Regions from separate parts of the Homo sapiens genome. Here all the other regions are linked to region 6. The links are contacts of gene promoters, found by promoter capture Hi-C in blood cells and fetal thymus (Javierre and others, 2016). All regions are on one chromosome and are shown on one strand. Each heading gives the region's core, a stretch centred on a gene start or on the middle of the fragment in contact. The rest is flanking DNA. Distances are from core to core; before and after follow the strand shown.

What was found. The method cuts DNA at HindIII sites, captures the fragments that hold promoters and counts their contacts. A CHiCAGO score of 5 or more calls a contact.
Region 1: a contact is called between the fragment with the promoter of ZNF749 here and the fragment with the promoter of ZNF583 in region 6, in 4 of 17 cell types (non-activated CD4 T cells, total CD8 T cells, total CD4 T cells and 1 more). The highest score is 7.6, in non-activated CD4 T cells.
Region 2: a fragment that was not itself captured here is called in contact with the fragment with the promoter of ZNF583 in region 6 in 1 of 17 cell types (total CD4 T cells); the score reaches 5.2 in total CD4 T cells.
Region 3: the fragment with the promoter of ZNF416 here is called in contact with the fragment with the promoter of ZNF583 in region 6 in 7 of 17 cell types (total CD8 T cells, monocytes, total CD4 T cells and 4 more); the score reaches 8.9 in total CD8 T cells.
Region 4: a contact is called between a fragment that was not itself captured here and the fragment with the promoter of ZNF583 in region 6, in 1 of 17 cell types (neutrophils). The highest score is 5.3, in neutrophils.
Region 5: a fragment that was not itself captured here is called in contact with the fragment with the promoter of ZNF583 in region 6 in 1 of 17 cell types (non-activated CD4 T cells); the score reaches 6.2 in non-activated CD4 T cells.
Region 7: a contact is called between the fragment with the promoter of ZNF772 here and the fragment with the promoter of ZNF583 in region 6, in 6 of 17 cell types (naive CD4 T cells, monocytes, M1 macrophages and 3 more). The highest score is 8.0, in naive CD4 T cells.

What each region holds. Positions count from the first base shown.
Region 1 is chr19:57,433,988-57,436,687 of GRCh38, reverse strand. ZNF749 (zinc finger protein 749) reads right to left here and starts at 1,363. Exons shown (of 3, transcript NM_001023561.4): 1 at 1,095-1,363. The coding sequence starts at 1,109. RefSeq lists enhancers at 799-848, 1,479-1,778. The HindIII fragment of the contact is 4,352 bases long and covers 1-2,700 here.
Region 2 is chr19:57,632,924-57,635,659 of GRCh38, reverse strand. It overlaps ZNF211 (zinc finger protein 211), which reads right to left and starts at 2,492. Exons shown (of 4, transcript NM_006385.5): 1 at 2,224-2,492; 2 at 1,599-1,637; 3 at 905-1,031. The coding sequence starts at 2,313. RefSeq lists a silencer at 2,173-2,242 and an enhancer at 2,683-2,732. The HindIII fragment of the contact is 4,311 bases long and covers 1-2,736 here.
Region 3 is chr19:57,577,516-57,580,498 of GRCh38, reverse strand. ZNF416 (zinc finger protein 416) reads left to right here and starts at 1,588. Exons shown (of 4, transcript NM_017879.3): 1 at 1,588-1,827; 2 at 2,401-2,442. The coding sequence starts at 1,795. RefSeq lists a silencer at 1,679-1,898. The HindIII fragment of the contact is 6,514 bases long and covers 1,265-2,983 here.
Region 4 is chr19:57,735,934-57,738,815 of GRCh38, reverse strand. No RefSeq gene overlaps it. Among named protein-coding and RNA genes, the nearest start is that of ZNF776, 9.4 kb to the left of the region's middle. The HindIII fragment of the contact is 6,253 bases long and covers 1-2,882 here.
Region 5 is chr19:57,677,993-57,680,692 of GRCh38, reverse strand. It overlaps ZSCAN4 (zinc finger and SCAN domain containing 4), which reads right to left. Exons shown (of 5, transcript NM_152677.4): 4 at 2,614-2,700; 5 at 1,541-2,527. The coding sequence ends at 1,788. Among named protein-coding and RNA genes, the nearest start is that of ZNF551, 2.6 kb to the left of the region's middle. The HindIII fragment of the contact is 774 bases long and covers 1,024-1,797 here.
Region 6 is chr19:56,402,983-56,405,682 of GRCh38, reverse strand. ZNF583 (zinc finger protein 583) reads right to left here and starts at 1,351. Exons shown (of 5, transcript NM_152478.3): 1 at 1,231-1,351. RefSeq lists a silencer at 1,118-1,327 and an enhancer at 1,788-1,927. The HindIII fragment of the contact is 8,045 bases long and covers 1-2,700 here.
Region 7 is chr19:57,476,218-57,479,098 of GRCh38, reverse strand. It overlaps ZNF772 (zinc finger protein 772), which reads left to right and starts at 1,533. Exons shown (of 4, transcript NM_001144068.2): 1 at 1,533-1,822; 2 at 2,427-2,465. The coding sequence starts at 1,790. RefSeq lists enhancers at 1,019-2,218, 1,809-2,332. The HindIII fragment of the contact is 1,804 bases long and covers 75-1,878 here.

The sequences.
Region 1 (2,700 bases), core at 114-2,613, 1.0 Mb before region 6:
GGATGTGAGAAAGCCCTGCCCAGTTTTGGACCCAGTTGCTGCATGGCCTTATCTTGTTCCCTAAAGAGTGGCCCTCAGGGCCAGCTGAGTTAGAAGGGTGGAGTGACTACAATTATCTCATGCCTCAGTCTCTGTATTCCAGGGCAACTCCTTATCCATCCAGGCCTCTTTTTCAACAGAAACAGACCAGACTCTTAGCCCATATCTGCTCCCTTCTGCAGGGAGTATCAGAGATGCCCTCCCTACCATGGTCTTTCCTCCAAATCTGAGCCCTCCCCTACCTCAGCCCATATGAAAAAACGATGTAGGATTCTTCCTTCTCAATCTGATCCACAGGCCAACTTCTCAAGTGCACAACTTCTAACTCATTTAAAGCTCCAGGCCAGCTACCTTCCCTCACCTTTGGAAATTACGTCCACCTACCCATGTGATGTCGCCCAAAATCCAACCCAGGATCTTCTGTCTGAAACCCGCTCCTTAAGCTGATATCTCTAATTCCATTCTTTCAGATTTTTCAGGCCAAAACAAAACCTATGGAAGACACCATTCACTACCGACTTTCCCTCACAGCTATGTTTGATGCAGCAGGAAATCCTGTTGACCCTATCTCTGAGATCCATCCAGAGTCTCATCACATCTCCCCTCTACTGCAACCCCTCTGGCCCAGCCCTACCATAACTCAAGGGGTCTCCTCAGCGGTCCCCCTGCCCCCGTTCAACATCCTGTTTTCCCCAACTTTAAACTTCTAACTCTGGGCGTGACCCTCCCATTCGTCCTCCCTGCACAGCCCTCTATGGCTCTCTGCGGCTCCACTGCCCTTCCAGGGGAGACTCCGCCTCAACCTCTGCTCCTTGGAGACAAAGACGCTCGGGCTCCCCAGTGCCGCCCGTTCTGCAGTGCCTCCAAGCCCCAGAGACGTGTCGGTCTCCGACGGGAGCTCCCCCGCCTCATCGCACCGCAGTCCCAGTCCCGGGCACCCCACACAAGAACGCCCCTCTCTTAGAGACACAAGGGCCTAACCTGCAGGGCGGCTCCTTGGGACTTCAGCACTGGGAGGAGGGGTTGGGCGGGGCGGCCTGGGACGCTGCACGCACCTCGGTCAGGTTCATCGGCGCGGCCTCCTCCAGTCCACCCAGGGAAGAGCGGGGCGGGAACGGCGGTCACCTGGACGCTGACGGAGGCAGGGGCGCCTGCAGCCGACTCAGCCGATCCGCACTCTAGCCTCTGTGTAGAAGGAACACCGCTTCTCGCGTTTTTCCGCTCTTTCACCTCAGTCCCGACCCAGAGCTCTGGGACCCTCTAAATCAGTGAACAGATCCCTAGGTAGCCATGCTAACGCAACCATGAGGGCGCCGCCAGAAGTCCCGCCCACACAATTGAGACCTCATTAGTCGTCTCTCTGCTAGACCAATGGCTACACTCGCTGCCCTGCCCCCGCAGTGTCTTCTGGGTAATGTAGTTCTCACGTTGCTGCCTGTGTCGCCCGCAGTGTCTTCTGGGTAATGTAGTTCCCACGCTGCTGCCTGCCTCGCCTCACAATGCTGGGCGCGCGGACCTTACGGAAAAAAGCTGGAGGCTCCTGGAGGAGCGTTAAGAAATGCAGTTCCGGGGCTCTTAAGGACGTGGAGGGGCTTTGCTGACTCCTAAACTGCAAGTAACCAGATTTTCCCGGAGAGCAGTCTAGGACAAGTCTGAGAAATATTTCAGAGACCTGTCGTTTCAGATTCTCTGAAGCACAGCAAGTCCCGAAAGGAAGAACATCAGAAGCGACATGGCTGACCATAATGAACTGGTCCTCCATTCATAGCGGTCAGCTCTTTTGTGCTTGTCAAGTACACACATACTGAGGCTCTGGAGACTTTTTTTTGATCGTTAGTGTGCTTCTGTTGGGACAAGAAAGAAAAGACCCACACAGGATGTGATGGAGAGTTGAAGGAGGAATATCTTTCTGTCGACGAAAAGGGTGGAACTTTGTGAAATAGTTGAAGAGATTTATTCTGAGACAAATATGAGTGACTAATGGCCCATGACACGGCTCCAAGATATCCTAAGAACATATGCCCAGGGTGGCCCATCTACAGCTTGGTTTTAACAATTTAGGAAGACGTAAGACATCAATCAATACATGTAAAATGTACATTGGATTCCTCTGGAAAGGCGCAACTGGAAGGGAGGGGCGGGGCTTCCAGGTCAGGTGGGTTCAAAGATTTTCCGATTGGCAATTGGTTGAAAGAGTTTGTATCTAAAGACCTGGAATCAGTAGAAATGGTTGTCTGGGTTAAGGGGTTGTGGGCCGGGCGTGGTATCTCACGCCTGTAATCCCAGCACTTTGGGAGGCCGAGGTGGGCGGATCACCTGAGGTTGGGAGTTCGAGACCAGCCTGACCAACATGTAGAAACCCCATCTCTACTAAAAATACAAAATTAGACGGGCATGGTGGCACATGCCTGTAATGCCAGCTACTCGGGAGGCTGAGGCAGGAGAATCGCTTGAACCCGGGAGGCGGAGGTTACGGTGAGCCGAGATCTCGCCATTGTACTCCAGCCCGTGCAACAAGAGCGAAACTCCGTCTCAAAAACAAAAAAAGACAAGGGGTTGTGAAGACCAAGGTTATATCATGCAGATGAAGCCTCCAGGTAGTCTTATAAGGCCTTATGATAAGGCCTCAGCTCCTGAGCTAAAGCTATCTTCCCACCTCAG
Region 2 (2,736 bases), core at 237-2,736, 1.2 Mb before region 6:
GAAAACAACCTGTGTCCACTGATGAAGGAATGGATAAACAAACTGTAATACATACAAAAGAATATTATTCAGCCTTAAAAAGAAGCAATTCTGATATATATTACAACATGGATGAATCTTGAAGATATTATGCTAAGTGAAGTAAGCCAGATAGAAAAGAACAAATATTGTGTGATCCCACTCATATGAGGTACTTACAGTAGACAAATTCATACAGACCAAAAGTAAAATGGTGGTTGCCAGGGGATGGGAAGAGTTATTATTTAATGAGTACAAAGTTTCAGTTTTATAAGATGAAAAAGTACTATAGAAGGATGGTGGTGATGGTTGCACAATAATGCGAATGTACTAAATGCGCTGAACTATATACTTGAAAATGATTAAAATGGTAAATTTTGTTATATATATTTTACAATTAAAAACAAAGAAAAACACCTTGAAGGAGGTTTCTATAAGAACAGTCTGTGTAATGTCTCTGCGGCACAATTTGTTAGAGTGTTCTGCTGTTAATGGAAAGGTTGGTGGTTGAAGAACAGTCTGTGTAAATAGTGGCAATGTCAGTGACTACATTTCATGTCACAGTCTAGCACAAATAAATGTTAGGTACACGAAGGGAGGGAAAACTGGGTGCCATAGATCTAGAAAGTCACCAGACAGGGAGAAGGCAAGTCAGGTGGGATCTATTAGGCTTACTGTAAGACTACTGATCCCAAATCCTTACCCAAGATGCTTTTGGGCTGGGACGATAAGGGAAGTAGGCTTGCACTCAGTCCACAACATCTACCCAGGGAACTGGGGAAGGAGGCAGTGCCTATAGTCCAGATATGAGGACAGAGCTGCTCCTGAGGAAAAGGAGAAACAGAGAGCCTAGTCCAGGGCACAAGGGTGAGTATGAGGGCCTTACCCAGGGAGGACGTAAGTGCAAAGTTCTCCAGCATCACATCGAAGTACAGGTGTTTCTGAGCCTCATCAAGGAGATCCCATTCCTCCCAGGAGAAGTACACGGCCACATCTTCAAAGGTCACACTTCCCTAGCATAATAGGGATTGATGAAACCATGAACAGTCTCAATTTGGAAGACTCAAAATCCATGTCCCCATACATTCTCCTCCCAAGATCCCCAAGTCAGAAGAGACACCAGACCTTGGTGTCATTGATCCCTGCTGTCTCTTCACATTCCCATTAGTCACTGTGTTCATTCTGTTTTCCACTCTGTATCCTGTCAACACTTGGGTTAGATAAATCTCCCTCCTCTGATCCCAAACTCCAACTTCCTCACAATAGATGCCAAACTTCACAGAAATAAAGGAAACCTGCAGTTCCCTGAACCAGCTCAGCCTCACCTCCAAGGAGTTCCAAAAGCTGGTACCTACCTGTTTCTATCATAAATTTTCACCCATCTTTCCATTGGCTGCTCCAAATGGAAACATTGGCCTGGACTCAGGGCCCTTAGCTCAGGGATTCTCCAGGGTTCCCAAACCAAACGCTGAGAGAATGGTAGGTGAGTCCCATGACACCACAAATCTAAAGAAAATATCTGTCTGGGGAGGGTGGAGGGACATTCCAGACCAGTGAGGGGCTGAGATACCTCCACTTACCTGTGTAAGTTTGAAAAGCACCTCTGTAGCTATGGGAACCTGTGGAAAGACGCAGGCCTCAGAGGAATGTGATCATGGCAGTGCTCCATGGGCACAGGCCTTCCCTGTACCCTTGCCCCGGCCCAGAGCCACGTAACTTTGGGTCGACTGTCTAACCTGTGCGCCTCGGTCCTTAGTGCTGCCTCTCACCAGTTGTGTGGCCTTGGAAAAATATTCAACCTCCCTCTGCCTCAACGTCCTCATCCATCTCTAAAGTCTTTTCTTCCACTGAACAGCCTGCAGAGGATTTTTCAAATTTAACTCAGATGGTGTCTCTCGTTTGCGCAAGCTCTCTATGGCTCCCACGGCCCTAAGAATAAAGGTAGATCTCTCTCAAACTTTGTTCCCTGCAGTAACAATGTGGAGCCCAGGTTCCTGAATGCCCCCTTCTCGGTTGCCCGTCCAAGCCCTGCACGCGCCGGTCCTGTCCCTTGTCCCCCTGCCCACCACATCGGATGTCAGAAATAGGGGCCCCACCCACGAGCCTCAGTGTCCCCGACCCTGTGCTACAGAGACGTGAGCTGGTGCCTCTCACTTGGGACTTAAGAATCTCGGCCGGGGGAGGCCCGGAGATCGCAGCGCTCACCGAAGCCGGGTCCCTCAGTGCGGTCGCCATCCGAGTCTGTGGGCGGAGCTGGACCGGGAGCTGCGGGCGACCCGGGGGGAACCCGAGCATCGCTATCCCCAGGCCGGCCTCGCGGGCGGCTCTGCCCCCGACCCTCAGACCTGACTCTCGCGCCTTCACGGTCCGTCACTTCGATCCCGATGCAGCGTACCAAAGCGGCTGACAGACAGAACGGACCTCCGGGAGGGCAGCCAAAATGACCGCTGCGAAGACGCCACAAGTCCCGCCCTGGGGGGGGCGGGGGTAGACCCACACGGAAATGCCCCTGTCTTGGATTTTCATTGGATCAAAGTACTGCCGCTCGACGCAAGGCTTTCTGGGTAATGTAGTCTCCCCCAGGCTGCGACGGAGGGCGCCTTGTGTGCAGACAGCTGGGAGCGCTAGGAAGCTGCGTCTGCTGCCTTCCAGGGCGACTGAGGGGCTTCGGTGTTTGAGGTCTTAAGTAGGTTGACACTTGAACAACACAGGTTTGAG
Region 3 (2,983 bases), core at 339-2,838, 1.2 Mb before region 6:
GTATCATATGGTAATTCTATTTTTACTTCTGTGGGGAACCTCCAAACTGTTCCCCATAGTGGCTTTACTAATTTACACTCCCACCAACAGCGTATGAAGTTTCCCTTTCCTCTCTGTCCTGGCCAGCATTCATTATTCCCTGTCTTTTGCATAAAAGTCATTTTAACTAGAGTGAGATGATATCTCATTGTAGTTTTGATTTGCATTTTTATAGTGATCAATGATGTTAAGCATGTTTTCATCTACCTGCTTGCCATTTATCTGTCTTTTAAAATTTTTAGTTTTATGAGTACATAGTATGTATGTATATTTATGGGATACGTGAGATATTGTGATACAGGCATACAATGTGTAATAATCATATCAGGGTACACAAGCATTTATCATTTCTTTGTGTTACAAACATTCTAGTTATAATACTCTTTTAGTTGTTTTTAATGTACAATAAATTACTGTTGACTGTAGTCTCTCTACTGTGCTATCAAATACTAGATCTTATTCATTCTACCCTGTCTTAAGGAGGCCTTGGTAGCCATGCTGAGGTTATGGGGTGCTGCTTCCAAAACCAAAAGTATTATGGGCAGCTGGTATGAAGGATCATAGGCTTATGGTCTGTGAGATCCTGTATGTTTAAGAAAGCCCAGTCTTATTGCCAGTAATTACTGTTTTAATGGTGTATAGCATGAGGCTGAAAGAGACAGTTTCCTGCATTGGAAGCTTTTACTCAACAAATGGCCGTTGTATGTGGTTCAGAGATTCCAAGAGGCATGAGAAGTGTAAACCAAAAATAAAATTCCCAGCCCCCCAACCATCTGAATGCATCCTTCCTCTTGGCCAAGGGCATTCCAAAGTTAATCTGAAAAACTAGTTCAGGACGTGATGGGAAGTGAGGGTCAGACTTGCCCTCCTCCCCTTGGAATTCAGGCACAACTGACCAGCATTAACATTAAAACAGAGATTTTAAGACTTCTTGTAGCAATAAGACAGTGAATTCCAGCCTGATTGTAGTATAGCATTACATGACAGATAGCAGGCCCTGAAAGGAATTGAAGTATTTTACTCTAAACTTTATTTATTTGACATATTTTGAAGAGGCCCTGCAAAGGTGTGTCTTGTGGAATCTGCATTTTGCTGAGAATCCCCTTTCCTCTCCAGGGTTTTTTTATTTTCATGGTCCAGGAAAGAATTAAGAGTCTGGCACCTTTCAAAGTCTGATAGGAAACATTTACAATCTATTCCCTCTGAAGCCTGCTGCGTGAAAGCTTCATCTGCTTAATAAGAACCTTGGTCTCTACAACCTCTTATCTTAACCCAGACACTCCCTTCAGTGGGTATGGGACTGCGGAAATCGGCCAGCGGCCCCTTTAAGGAGCAGCAAGTCCCTGTCTCGCTCTTGGTGTCGCGCCTTTTCCTAGCGCCCTCCGCGGGCCGCTTAGCCCTTGTTCCGGGTGAATCTCAGGGAGGGCACCGGAACCCTGGGCTTCTGAGAACTACATTACCCATAATGCCGAGCGCCAAGCTGCAAAGACGCGGAGCCAATCAACGTTCAGGAACGGACCTGTCTCCGTTTGTTGCATACGGTAAGGCGGGACTTCCGGCACCGCTCCGAGATGGTAATTTTGGTGGTTCTCTACCTCGGCCCACGCCGCCTGAGTTAGAAACGCTGCCTCCGGCACAGAGCGGGGGTCGCCCCGCTGCGCATCAGCCGGTGGGTCGCTGGCGCTGGTGGCAGCCGTGCCTGGGTTCCCGCCCCGGGTCGCCCGCCGCTCCCGGCCCCGCTCCGCTCACAATCCGATGGCGGCGGCCGTGCTTAGGGATTCGACTTCGGTGAGTGCTGCGTCTCCCGGGCCTCACCTGCCCTCTCCGCCGGAAATCCAACACCCTGCATGAGGGGCGCCTGCTTGCGTCCCTGCAGCCCGACCCTAGAGTCCAGGACTATGAGGCCCTCGCGGGTGGGGCTCCCATTTACAAGCCTGGTGTCGTGGGCTGTGGAGGGTGTGGCAGGCGGAGGGGCCGGTTTCTGTGAATCTTGCTGGGACGATTGAGCCAGTAACGTTCACGCCCGAATGGTAAAATGAGGCTCTTTCTTTTCAAGACGCTGAGAGCCATGGGTGGTTGTGAACAGACGAGGCACATGGTCTGAGTTAGACTTTTCAAATTTTTTCTAAAGTTACTCAGAGTTGGAACAGCCTGGAAGGGGGATAACACCGAGGCACAGGGAAGTTGAGTCCTTGTGCAAGGTCCCACAGCAGGTAAGAGTCACACGGAACTGAGGAGCAATAATAATTTAGTCATCACCAAGTCACCTGGCTCCAGGGCTGCGCAGGGAAACAAGGAGGCATCAGCCCATGGAGCTTCCACCATAGTTACCTGCCTCTCATAGCCTTCCTCTTCCCGCAGGTTCCCGTGACTGCAGAAGCTAAACTTATGGGCTTTACACAGGTGAGTGGAGAGTGTTTCGGGCCCTCACTGATGCTGACCCCAGTGTTTGTCTCTGAGATTGTGTTCTGGGACTCTTCTCTTGGCACTCTTTGGGTCCTTGGTTCTAGGAATCCTGAACAAACATCAGTCCCAGGGTCATACATCCAGGCTGGAAGCTGGTATAGAATGGTTCCTATTGCTGGGAACCAGTAAAGTAAGGTGTGGAACGTTGTCTCAGGCTTAGATACCAGATGAGCAAGTGCTTGAAGGTCAGGCTGAGCTGGTTTAGGAAACTACAGCTGTTTTCTTTCTCATGGGAACTGAAAGCTGGGATGCAGGAATCAGACAAAAAATGGCTGTCAGTTGTCGGGTGTTTCTTCTGGAGTGTGTGATGAGCAATGACAGTTTGGGGGCAGAGGAGGTATGTGATCTGATCCAGGTCTCATCAGGTTCCCTGTGTGTGGCCAAGCTGAGAGAACAGGCTGAGTGTGAGGTATGAGATAGGAAGATAGTGAAGAAGGCTGCTGCAGTAGTCCAGGTGAGTGTTACTGGTGGCTGGACT
Region 4 (2,882 bases), core at 200-2,699, 1.3 Mb before region 6:
AGAAGGCAGAGCCAGGTGTACAGGATGGAACATGAAGGTGGACTAGGAGCGTGACCACTGAAGCACAGCATCACAGGGAGATGGTTAGGCCTCCGGATAACTGCGGGTGGGCCTGACTGATGTCAGGCCCTCCACAAGAGACGGAGGAGCAGAGTCTTCTCTAAACTCCCCCCGGGGAAAAGGGAGACTCCCTTTCCCGGTCCGCTAAGTAGCGGTTGTTTTTCCTTGACACTAAGGCTACCGCTAGACCAGACTTCCCAGATGCTGGCATCACCGCTAGACCAAGGAGCCCTCTGGTGGCCCTGTCTGGACATAACAGAAGGCTCGCACTCTTGTCTTCTGGTCACTTCTCACTGTGTCCCCTCAGCTCCTATCTCTGTATGGCCTGGTTTTTTCTAGGTTATGATTATAGAGCGAGTATTATTATAATACTGGAATAAAGAGTAATTGCTACAAACTAATGATTAATGATATTCATATATAATTACATCTATGATCTAGATCTAGTATAACTCTTGTTGTTTTATATATTTTATTATACTGGAATGGCTCATGCCCTCGGTCTCTTGCCTCAGCACCTGGGTAGCTTGCTGCCCACAACACTCACCTGGGAATAGTTGGTATTTACTAATTCACATTTACAAAACCGTGGCTGGAGTGTCAGCATTCCTGCCATGGGGAAAGTGGATATTTGAACCCTGAGAAAAGATTCTGGGTACAATAATCTCACCTTCTTGCTGGGAAGGAACTATCATTTCAGCAGTAAGTACAATGATAGTTTCGGCATGGGGACTGGAGATTACCTCTGGAAAACAGCTTGGACTGAGAAAATTAGTTAATATTGTGGATAAATGAAGTTACCACTGAGAATGACATAAGTAGCTAGAAAAGTTTCTGTGAAGTCTGAGAACACATAAATCTCAATGGATAGTGAGCAGAGGACATGGGGCTGTAAGTTCTGAGATAATTAAGTGGAGCCCATGGCTATCCTAGAGACTTGACTAACATGAAATTCTTATTTCTACAAAGTGTGTATTATTTCAATTTCTGAGAACTCAGGAAAAACCAACTGAGAGCCAAGGAAATAGTAAGGTAAGACTAGAAAGATGTCATAGAACAGAAAGAAAGCGATGGTGGCATCATATTGATTCAATGTCTTGGAATCTGCATCTTGTCACCTGGGGACACATTCTTTGATACAAAATGGAGGACCAGCTCATAGCTCCTGTGGTATTGAAAAACAAGTACTCCGGCCAGGCGTGGTGGCTCACGCCTGTAATACCAGCACTTTGGGAGCCCGAGGCGGGCGGATCACGGGGTCAGGCCATCGAGACCATCCTAGTCAACATGGTGAAACCCAGTATCCACTAAAATACAAAAAAATTAGCCAGGCGTGGTGGCGCACTCCTGTAGTCCCAGCTACTTGGGAGGCTGAGGCAGGGGAAATCACTTGAACCTGGGCGGAGGAGGGTGCAGTGAGCCGAGATCGCACCACTGCACTCCAGCCTGGTGACAGAGCAAGACTCCATCTCAAAAAAAAAGAAAAAAGAAAAAAAAAGTATTCCTTACAGTAAAGGAATGATATCACTGAAGAATATATTAGGTTCAAATATGTCTTTGTTTTACTTTTTCTTATTTCTTATTGAAATGGAAATAGAAAAAAAATTATTTTAGTATCAGGGTAATACCAACCTTGTATGATGAATTTAGAAGTATTTTCTCCTCCTCTTATTTTTGGGAATAGTTCGAGTAGGATTGGGGTTAGTTCTTTAAATGTTTGGTAAAATTCAGTAGTGAAGCCATTGGGTCCCAGGCTTTTCTTTGCTGGGAAAATTTTTATTACAGCCTCAATCTCATTGCTTGCTATTTGTCAGTTCAGGTTTTGGATTTCCTCATAATTCATCTTGGTAAGTTATATGTGTCTAGGAATTTGTCCATTTTTTCTATAATTTCCAATTTTTGGCATACAGTTGATCATAGTAGCCTCTAATGATCCTTTGAATTTCTGCAGTATTGGCTGTAAAGTCTTCTTTCTCACTTCTATTTTATTTGGTTTATCTTTCTTAGTCTGGCTAAAGGATTTTTTATTTTGTTTACTTTTCAAAAAACCAATTTCTCGGCCGGGCGTGGTGGCTCACGCCTGTAATCCCAGCACTTTGGGAGGCCGAGGTGGACAGATCACGAGGTCAGGAGTTCGAGACCAGCCTGACCAACATGGCAAAGCCCCGTCTGTATTAAAAATACAAAAATTAGCCGGGCATGGTGGTGGGTGCCTGTAATCCCAGCTACTTGGGAGGCTGAGGCAGGAGAATTGCTTGAACCCAGGAGGCAGAGGTTGCAGTGAACAGAGATCCTGCCATTGCACTCCAGCCTGGGTGATAAGAGCAAGACCCCATTTCAAAAAAAACAAACAAAAAACAAACAAACAAAAAAAATCATTTTGTTGAACACATTTGTATTGTTTTCTTTGTTTCAGTTTCATTTATTTCTGCTCTAATCTTTATTATTTTATTTTCCTTTTTTTTTTTTTTTTTTTGAGACAGAGTCTTGTTCTGTTGCCCAGGCTAGAGTGCAGTGGCGTGATCTTGGCTCACTGCAACCTCCACCTCCCGGGTTCAAGCAATTCTCCTGTCTCAGCCTCCTGAGTAGCTGGGACTACAGGTGCCTGCCACTACGTCTGGCTAATTTTTATATTTTTAGTAGAGATGGAATTTCACCTTATTGGTCAGGCTGGTCTCGAACTCCTGACCTCCGGTGATCCACCTGCCTCAGCCTCCCAAAGTGTTGGGACTGCAGGCGTGAGCTACTGCGCCCAGCTATTTATTTTCTTCTACTCACTTTGGGTTTGGTTTGCTCTAGCATCTCTAATTCTTTAAGATGCA
Region 5 (2,700 bases), core at 161-2,660, 1.3 Mb before region 6:
TCAGATTTTTCATTGTTAGTGTATGGAAGGGCATATGAGTTTTACATGTTGACTTTTGCATGTTGACTTTGAATTCAGCTACACAGGTGAATTTGTTTATCAGTTCTTTTTTTTTTTTTTTTTCCCAGACGGAGTCTCACTCTGTTGCCCAGGCTAGAGTGCAATGGCTTGATCTTGGCTCACCACAAGTTCCACCTCCCAGGTTCAAGCAATTCTTCTGCCTCAGCCTCCCAAGTGGCTGGCACTACAGGCGCCAGCACCATGCCCGGCTAATTTCTGTATTTTCAGTAGAGCGAGGGTTTTACCATGTTGGCCAGGCTGGTCTTGAACTCCTGACCTCAGGTGAGCCACTGCGCCTGGGCTTTTTTGTTTTTGTTCTTGAGACAGTGTCTTGCTCTGTCTCCCAGGGTGGAGTGCAGTGGCGCGATCTCAGCTCACTGCAACCTCTGCCTCCCGGGTTCAAGCGATTCTCCTGCCTCAGCCTCCTGAGTAGCTGGGGTTACAAGCATACACCACCATGCCCAGCTAATTTTTGTATGTTTAAATTAATCAAAGTTGCCAGCAAAAAAAAAAAAAAATATTAATTCCTCCCTTAGAAGTTACAATAAACATCTTTTTAAAATTTTTTTGAGCCTGTCACCCAGGCTGGAGTGCGGTGGTCTGTTCTCAGCTCACTGCAACCTCTGCCTCCCAGGTTCAAGTGATCCTCTCATCTCAGCCTCCCAAATAGCTGGGATTACAGGCGCATGTCGCCAAACCTAGCTAATTGTTTTTTTGTATTTTTTGTACAGATGAGGTTTTGCCTTGGTGCTCAGGCTGGTCTCAAACTCCTGGACTCAAGTGATCTGCCCGCCTCAGCCTGACAAAGTGCTGGGATTACAGGCATGAGACACTGTGCCCAGCCTAAACATCTTTAATCTAATTCGACCTTCAAATAACTACTGGATTGCTTCACATGTAATGCAGGGACCCTGTAACAGGACCTTTGGGGATGAATTCTTTAGTATTTGTGTGAGAAAAGCTTTATTCTCCTCCACCTTTGAAAGATAACATTGCTGGATATAGATGTTAGGGTGGGGTTTTATTTTTTGTACTAAATTTTGAACTTTCACTCCATTCCCTTCTTGATTATCTGGTTTCTGACAAGAATTCTACTCTAAATCTCATCCTTGTTCCTCAGCAGGTAAAGTGCCCTCTCCCACCTCCATCTTCTTTCAAGAATTTCTCTATCTTTGGCCTTCTGTAGTTTGAATATGATGTACCTAGTTGTAGGTTTTTGGTATTTACACTGCTTCCTCTTCTCTGAGATTTCTGGATCTGTGGTTTGGTGTCTATGATTAATTTTGGACCTCCAAGTGGAGGTTGCAGTGAGCCAAGATCACACCACGGCACTCCAGTCTGAGCGACAGATCAAGACTCTGACTCAGAAAAAAAAAAAAAAGCCGGGCACGGTCACTCACGCTTGTAATCCCAGCACTTTGGGAGGCCGAACCACTGCGGCCGGCCCCATCTCTTTTTTTAAAAAAGGATATCAACATTATGGATTCATTCATTTATTCAACAGAAATTTATTGGTTCTTGGAAATGTTCCACTTTCCCAACCACTTGGAATACTTTAGTGAACAAAACTGACAAATTCCATGCTCTCCTTAGCCTTACATTTTAATGAAGCAAGACAATAAATTGAAAGCATAATCAGGAGATTATATCTTATATCCTAAGTAGATAAATACTATAGGAATATACATACTTGCATACATATTTATACACATTATCAGACCAGCAGCTTAGGAAGCTTCTGGTGTGGAGGGAACACTTGGCAGGGTAATTTTCTCATGAGTCCTCATATGGCGGTGGTATGTGGATGACTGGCGGTAGCTTGTCTTACAAAAGGGACATGTATAAGGCTTTTCTCCTGTGTGGATTCTCTCATGAGACCGCAGGTTGGTTTTGTGGCTGAAGGACTTTTTACACATGCTGCATGTGAAAGGCTTCTTTCCTGTGTGAATTATCTGATGCACCCGTAGGTCTGATATCTGGAAGAAGCCTTTTTGACACTCGGGACAAACAAATGGCCTCTCATTCCTGTGTCTTCTCTGGTGAGCTAATAAGTGACAGAGATACTTAAAGACCTTGGGGCATTCTTCACATTTGTATGATTTTTGGACTCCATGGGATCCTTTCTGATGTACCTCACATGTGGAATTTCCCTCATTGCTCTGGTGGGTAAGGGCAGACTCAGGGGAGGACTGCTCTGGTTGAGAGATACACCCTGCTCCCATCACCATAGGGACACCTTGGAAAGTGATTCCATTTATGGACCCTTCCTGAGATCTAGCAGTGACTAGCTCTGCTCTTTTTGAGTTGTATGGGTTGTCAGAAGAAACACCTCCCTCTTCAGGCCTAGGACCGTTCTCTTCCTGGATGATGATTAGGGAAACTATTTGATTGCCTTGATTAGTAATATTTTCATTTACTCGAGTAGTTTTCGAAGAACTGTTCCAGCCATCTTGTTCATCTTCATATCCTGTGAAAATAGACACTCAATGAAGTTGTACTTAAGAAGGGGTCCACATAGAACACTCCTCAGTTGTGCAGATTCACCTGACTTACCTTGTCCTGTTTCTAAGGAAGTATCTTGGGAAGTCTGGGAGGGTGTCCCCATGTTTGCTTCTCTTGTGGTTTGGGCATTCACTTGTT
Region 6 (2,700 bases), core at 102-2,601:
CGTGCCCCCAGAGACTGAGAGGGATGGAAAAACTACTGTGCCAGAGGACAAGCAGCCAGCGTGGTCAGCTTTTCAGGCTTAAGGCTGAGGCTCCTGTCTGTCTCTCCCTTTTCAGCTCTCGTCCCTCCCTTTCTCCATCTTTTCCCCTTTATCTCAATCTTTCTGTCTCTCCACCACAACAGCAGTCTCCCAAACCCCAGAGCACACCAGCATCTCCAAGCACCCACACAGCTTCCTGCCCACACAAATCACAGACAACAAACCACATAGTTTCTCATTCTGGCACCTCCCCTGGCAACCTATGGACATGCCCCCACATTGTAGCCCGCCCTGCTCTCACAATGGGTCATATAAGGCCATTCTCAGTCACACTGTCACACTCACTGTCGGGATGACATACAGTGCTAAGTCACACCATCTCCCTCAGTCTCACATAATCACACACACTGTCATGCACAATCTCAAACACTGTCACATACAATCTTAGTCCAACAACAAAAACTCTGTTCACATACAGTTTCACATACAGTGACACAGTCTCACACACTGTCACACAAATTCTGTCGCAGTTTCATGTGGTCCCATATCAACAGCCACACACCGTACACAACCACACATAGCCTCACACACGGTGACATGGTCTCACATACTGTCACAGTCTCATCTAATCCTACACACACGGTCAAGCTCTGTTCACAAAGTCACACACACTGTCACACAGTCTTACATTATCCCACACACACAGGTCACACACACAGTGACATGGTCTTACACACTGTTCACACGTGGTCTACACATAATGACAGTTTAACACTGTCACACATTCCCAGTCTCACACATGGTGACGTGGTCTTAAGCACATACAGTGTCACACAGTCCCACACGGTCCCATATACTGTCAAAGGCTCCCGCATACACCGGGGCAACGGTCTCATACTGTCGCACACATTCTCACACCCAGTCTCATACTGTCACACATAGTCCCACATTTGTCCCACATGGTCTCACACTGACACACATATTCACACACGGCCTCACATTCTCACACTGTCACACACGGTCTCAAATTCTCACACAGTCACACATGGTCTCACACACGATTCCACACTGTCAAACACATTGTCACACACGGTTCCTTAATGTCTCACACATTCTCACACACTGTCACACACGGTCCCACACATGGTGGCATGGCCGCTCCCGGCGTCAGCTCCATCCCGCGCTCCTCACCGCCTCCTCCCTCCAGTGGGCACCTCCTTCGGCGCGGTCCTTGGAGGCCGGGGCTGGGCCAGGGCCCGGGCCAGGGCTCGATCCTGGCCGGCGGCCGCGCTCACAAAGGCGCCGCAGCCCTAGGGCAGGCCGCAGGGGCCGCTGGGAAATGGAGTCCGGGGCCGGCGCGGCGCAGAGGATGCTGGGATGTTGGCCGAGGGCCCCGGGCGGCCGCAGATCCCGCCGCTCAGTTGCGGGTAGTTACTGCTGCGCCCCTTTCCCTAGTAAGCCCACCTCCGCTGGCCTTCAGAATCCCACCCGGACCAGCTGAGCCCTCTCAGGCCGTTCGACTGTCCGCTCCCCCACCCGTTCCACCCGTTCCACCTGCGCAGGCGCAGCTGGTTCAGGTCCCCAAAGGCTGCCAGGCCGGGGTGCCAGCGCGGTGAGGCGCACGCGCAGTGACCGCGTCCGCGCTCCAGCGCTCCGGGTGGGGCTGTGAGTCCATCGCTGAGAAAAGGGAGCTGGAGGACCAGTGTGGAGCCTGAGCCAGCTGGAGAGGGGCCCGGTAGGATGTACGTGTGATTAAGCGCTCTGGCGGCCCGGGCTTTCTCTTTCCCTTTCTGTTTCTTCTCTCTCCGCCTTGCCCTGTCTTTCATTCGCCACTTATTGAGCGCCTGCTGTATCGGGCACTGTCGTGGGCCCTGGGCACACAGCAGTGAACAAGCAGACAAAATCCCCACCTCATGGAGCAGCATTCTAATGCGGGAGGAATTCAATAGGAAAAAATTAATAATAAAGGACACTGATGCATATTGGGAAGTAATGCGTATTATCAAGAAAAGCGAAGCAGAGTATTAAGATCATTCTTTCAGTTCTTCATTCTTTCAGTTATGCCCTCTGAATCAGTGGAAAAAACGCAAGGTGCATTTTTTTCTATTATCTCAACGACAACTAATCATAACAGAAGACTTTTCTGACCAAATATAGGGGAGTTTCCCACACATCTCAAGCAAGCAATGAGTTCAGTGAGTTCTGCAGCGGGCACCAGCTGGGTGTCCTCCAGTTTAATTCCGACGCCGTCTACTTGGAGATGGGTCAGACACCATTCGCTGAGGGCTCAGTCCCCAAGCCTGCCTCCCCCTTCCCACTTCCCACTAAAGTCTAGCCTCTGGAACATCTGACTCCACCACCTTCAAATTGGGATTTTCACCACCCCCTCTTTGCGGTTCGATATTTTGCTAGAGTGGCTCACGGAACTCAGGAAACACTTATGTTTACTAGTTTATTATAAAGGATATTACAAATGATATAGATGAAGAGATGCGTAGGGCAAAGTACAGAAAAAAGGGTGTTGCACCTTCCAGTAACCTCCACATGTTCAGCTGGGTGGAAGCTCTCTAAACCCTGTCTTTTGGGAGTTTTACAGAGGCTTCATTACATAGGCATGGTTGATTAAAATCCCGTCCCCTCCTTAGGGTTGGGGGTGGGGTT
Region 7 (2,881 bases), core at 284-2,783, 1.1 Mb before region 6:
TAAACATCTGTGACCAATGTTCTTTTTATCTCAAAACAAATTATATATACTTTTCCCTTTTGCCTTTGAAAGCTTCTCCTTGTTTCAAGCTCTCTGGATATGCCTATAGTCCCTATAGCCTGCATGTCCTGGATTTGCAAATCCCCTGTGCATTCCTGAATGAACTCAACATCTTTGAAGAATCTCTGTTATTTAGGTTGACAGTTTAAATATATCCTACATTGTGCTTTTCTTTGCCTCACTTCTTCCACTTATTTTACTATTATTTTACCTTTCTATTGATTATTTATTTATATTCCAAACATTTCCTCTTCTAGTTTGAAAAGTATATACGCTGACTGTATTTATTATATTTAGGCTAAAAATTACAAACGTTTAACACATTAGCGTGCCATACAGGATTGTAATACATTTGCTTTCCACTTGGAAATATAAAAAATTTAAAACTTTGAGCAACTAGCCTCCTTTCAATTTATATGTAGTTGAGGTTACGCACGGGAATTCCATCATTCTAACTCAATAAGTATATCTACTTATGTTTTACACTGTAATATGCTGTTATTTTAATCAAAAGATGCACTTCTTTTCATCTTCATTTCTTCTCTCATTGCAGACTTTTCACCTGAGATCAACTTTCTTTGGCCTTGAGTATTATTTTAAACATTATTTTTTGTGTAAATGTATTTCCATTACATTTATCATTTTTGGTTTCAAATAGTTTTATATCACACTTCCATAAAAGACATTTTGTTGTGTATAGACATCTAGTTTGGTGGTTATTTCTTCTTTACAGAAAGTGTTCATGTTGCCCTTTTCATTGCCATATGACATTTGATGAATTCTGTCTTTTCAGACACTTGTAAAACACTTAAAATATTGAATACATCTCTGTATATGGAGTATGAAATACTATCTTGAACAAGAGTATTACTTGTTGGGTTTGACACAATCACTGCTGTATAAGCAGGATAAATATTTTCTGAGGTAACAGACAGAAGGGTTATTCACTTACTTCAAGGCCACCAAACATCCCCACTCCACGTTCCACATCATGGTGTCTGGAGTCTTTTCTTTCTTGTGCCTGACAGAAAATGCTGAGGCTCGCCAAACTAACTCTGGAGCATCAGGCTACACGCATTTGAAAACAATATTTGTTAACTTCCAGCCATAGAAATCTGAGTGACGTCAGTGTATGGTGTGTCCATTTTATTTTTTGATGAGCATTCTCTGCGTAAGGAAGGCTGAAATCATGTCTCTAAACATTCCTTTGATGTCAAACACGACGTTCACCAGAAATACAGATATGGCTCCTTCAAGAGGAAGCTAAGCTCCGTCTGGGCCTTGGAGACGAGGGACACCATTTCCACGCGCCCCTGGCGGTCTTCTCTGGGCTTTTAACCTGGAGGTGAAGCGAGACGCCGCTTACTAGTGTTGGTGCCGTGGGAACTACATTACCCAGGAAACTTGGCGGCTCTGGGCCAATGAAAACCCAGGAAATAGGCGTTTCCGTTGGTCCTCACCAACGTCAGGGCGGGACTTCCTCTACCATCCTCGGGTGGACATTTTGTTTGCTTTTCCATTAATCCACTGGTTTAGTTTCCAGAACGCAATGTCAGACCTGAGGTGACAGAAAAGGGAAAACGTGAGAGAGTGTCTTCTTCCCTGAAGAGAGGTGGGCCTGAGGCTTGACAGTGGCGCTGCCTGAGTGACCTAGCCGCTGGGCTGGGCCCTGGACAGCTGATCCCAGGTTCCTGCACTTGTCGCCACCCTTCCGTAGTCCACAGGCCTGATGGCGGCGGCTGAGCCGATGGGCCCGGCACAGGTGGGTGCTGCGTCTGCGAGTCTGCGCGCTGACCCCCATCTCTGAATCCCAAAGCTTCGAATGAACGATTCCTCGGGTTACTGCAGCTCAGGCCCCTGTATCTAGAACAGTGGGGGCGCTCGTGTTTGGGACCCATTTTGACAGCACGAGTTGAAGGACGTTCCAGGCAGAGAGACCAGTGTATGCAAAGGCTCAGAGATGGTTCACAGCTGGAGCATTTGGGAAAACTGGGCCTTTAGTGTCTGAAAGGATCAGAGCGCTTTATAAGTGATTGCACCTGGAATATCATCCTGAGCAGCTGGGTCTCTATTCTGAGGGTGATGGGAGCCATGGAAGGTTCTGAACAGAGGAGAGCCAGAATCCGAGGGTTTAAAAAGTATTCCATAGACTGCTCATGGAGGGCAGACTCTTGTTGGCCATGGGGGCGGATAATGAGCACTGTTCCGAGCTAACACAGTTAAGAGGTATCCTTGAAGATGGAAGCACAGAGGGTAGACATTCAGCTCCCAGGCACATTGTAACTGGGTAGGAATATGGGATGGGGTTGAGCCTTTGGGGTTCCTTCAAGATTGCTTGACTCGCATAGTCTCCCTCTTCCCCACAGGTTCCCATGAACTCAGAAGTAATTGTGGACCCTATACAGGTGAGGGGAGAATGTCCATGCTCTCACCGATCCCACCCCCACCCAATACGCTCTCCAGCATTGTGGTGTTATATAGAACACTCTCCTGCTACTCTCCGATCTCTTGGGTCTGAGGACTCTGGAGAAGCCCCAAGCCCAGGGTCCTGACTCCGGGCCAGGGGTTTTATGGAGGGGTTTCCATTTCTGCCAACCATTGGAATAAGGTTGGAAGGTTGTTCCAGGCACAGGAACCAGCCTGTGCAAAATACTTAGAGGTGAGACTGAGAAGGGAGTTTTCAAGAAATTGCAGGTCTCTGTCATGTCTGGTGGGAACCAAGAGCAAGGGGGCGGGAATCATCCTGAAATGGCTTAAAGATGATTATGTAGATTGGGAGTTAAAAGAGAATATTCATTTCACAGTGGTAGTGCATTTAGTG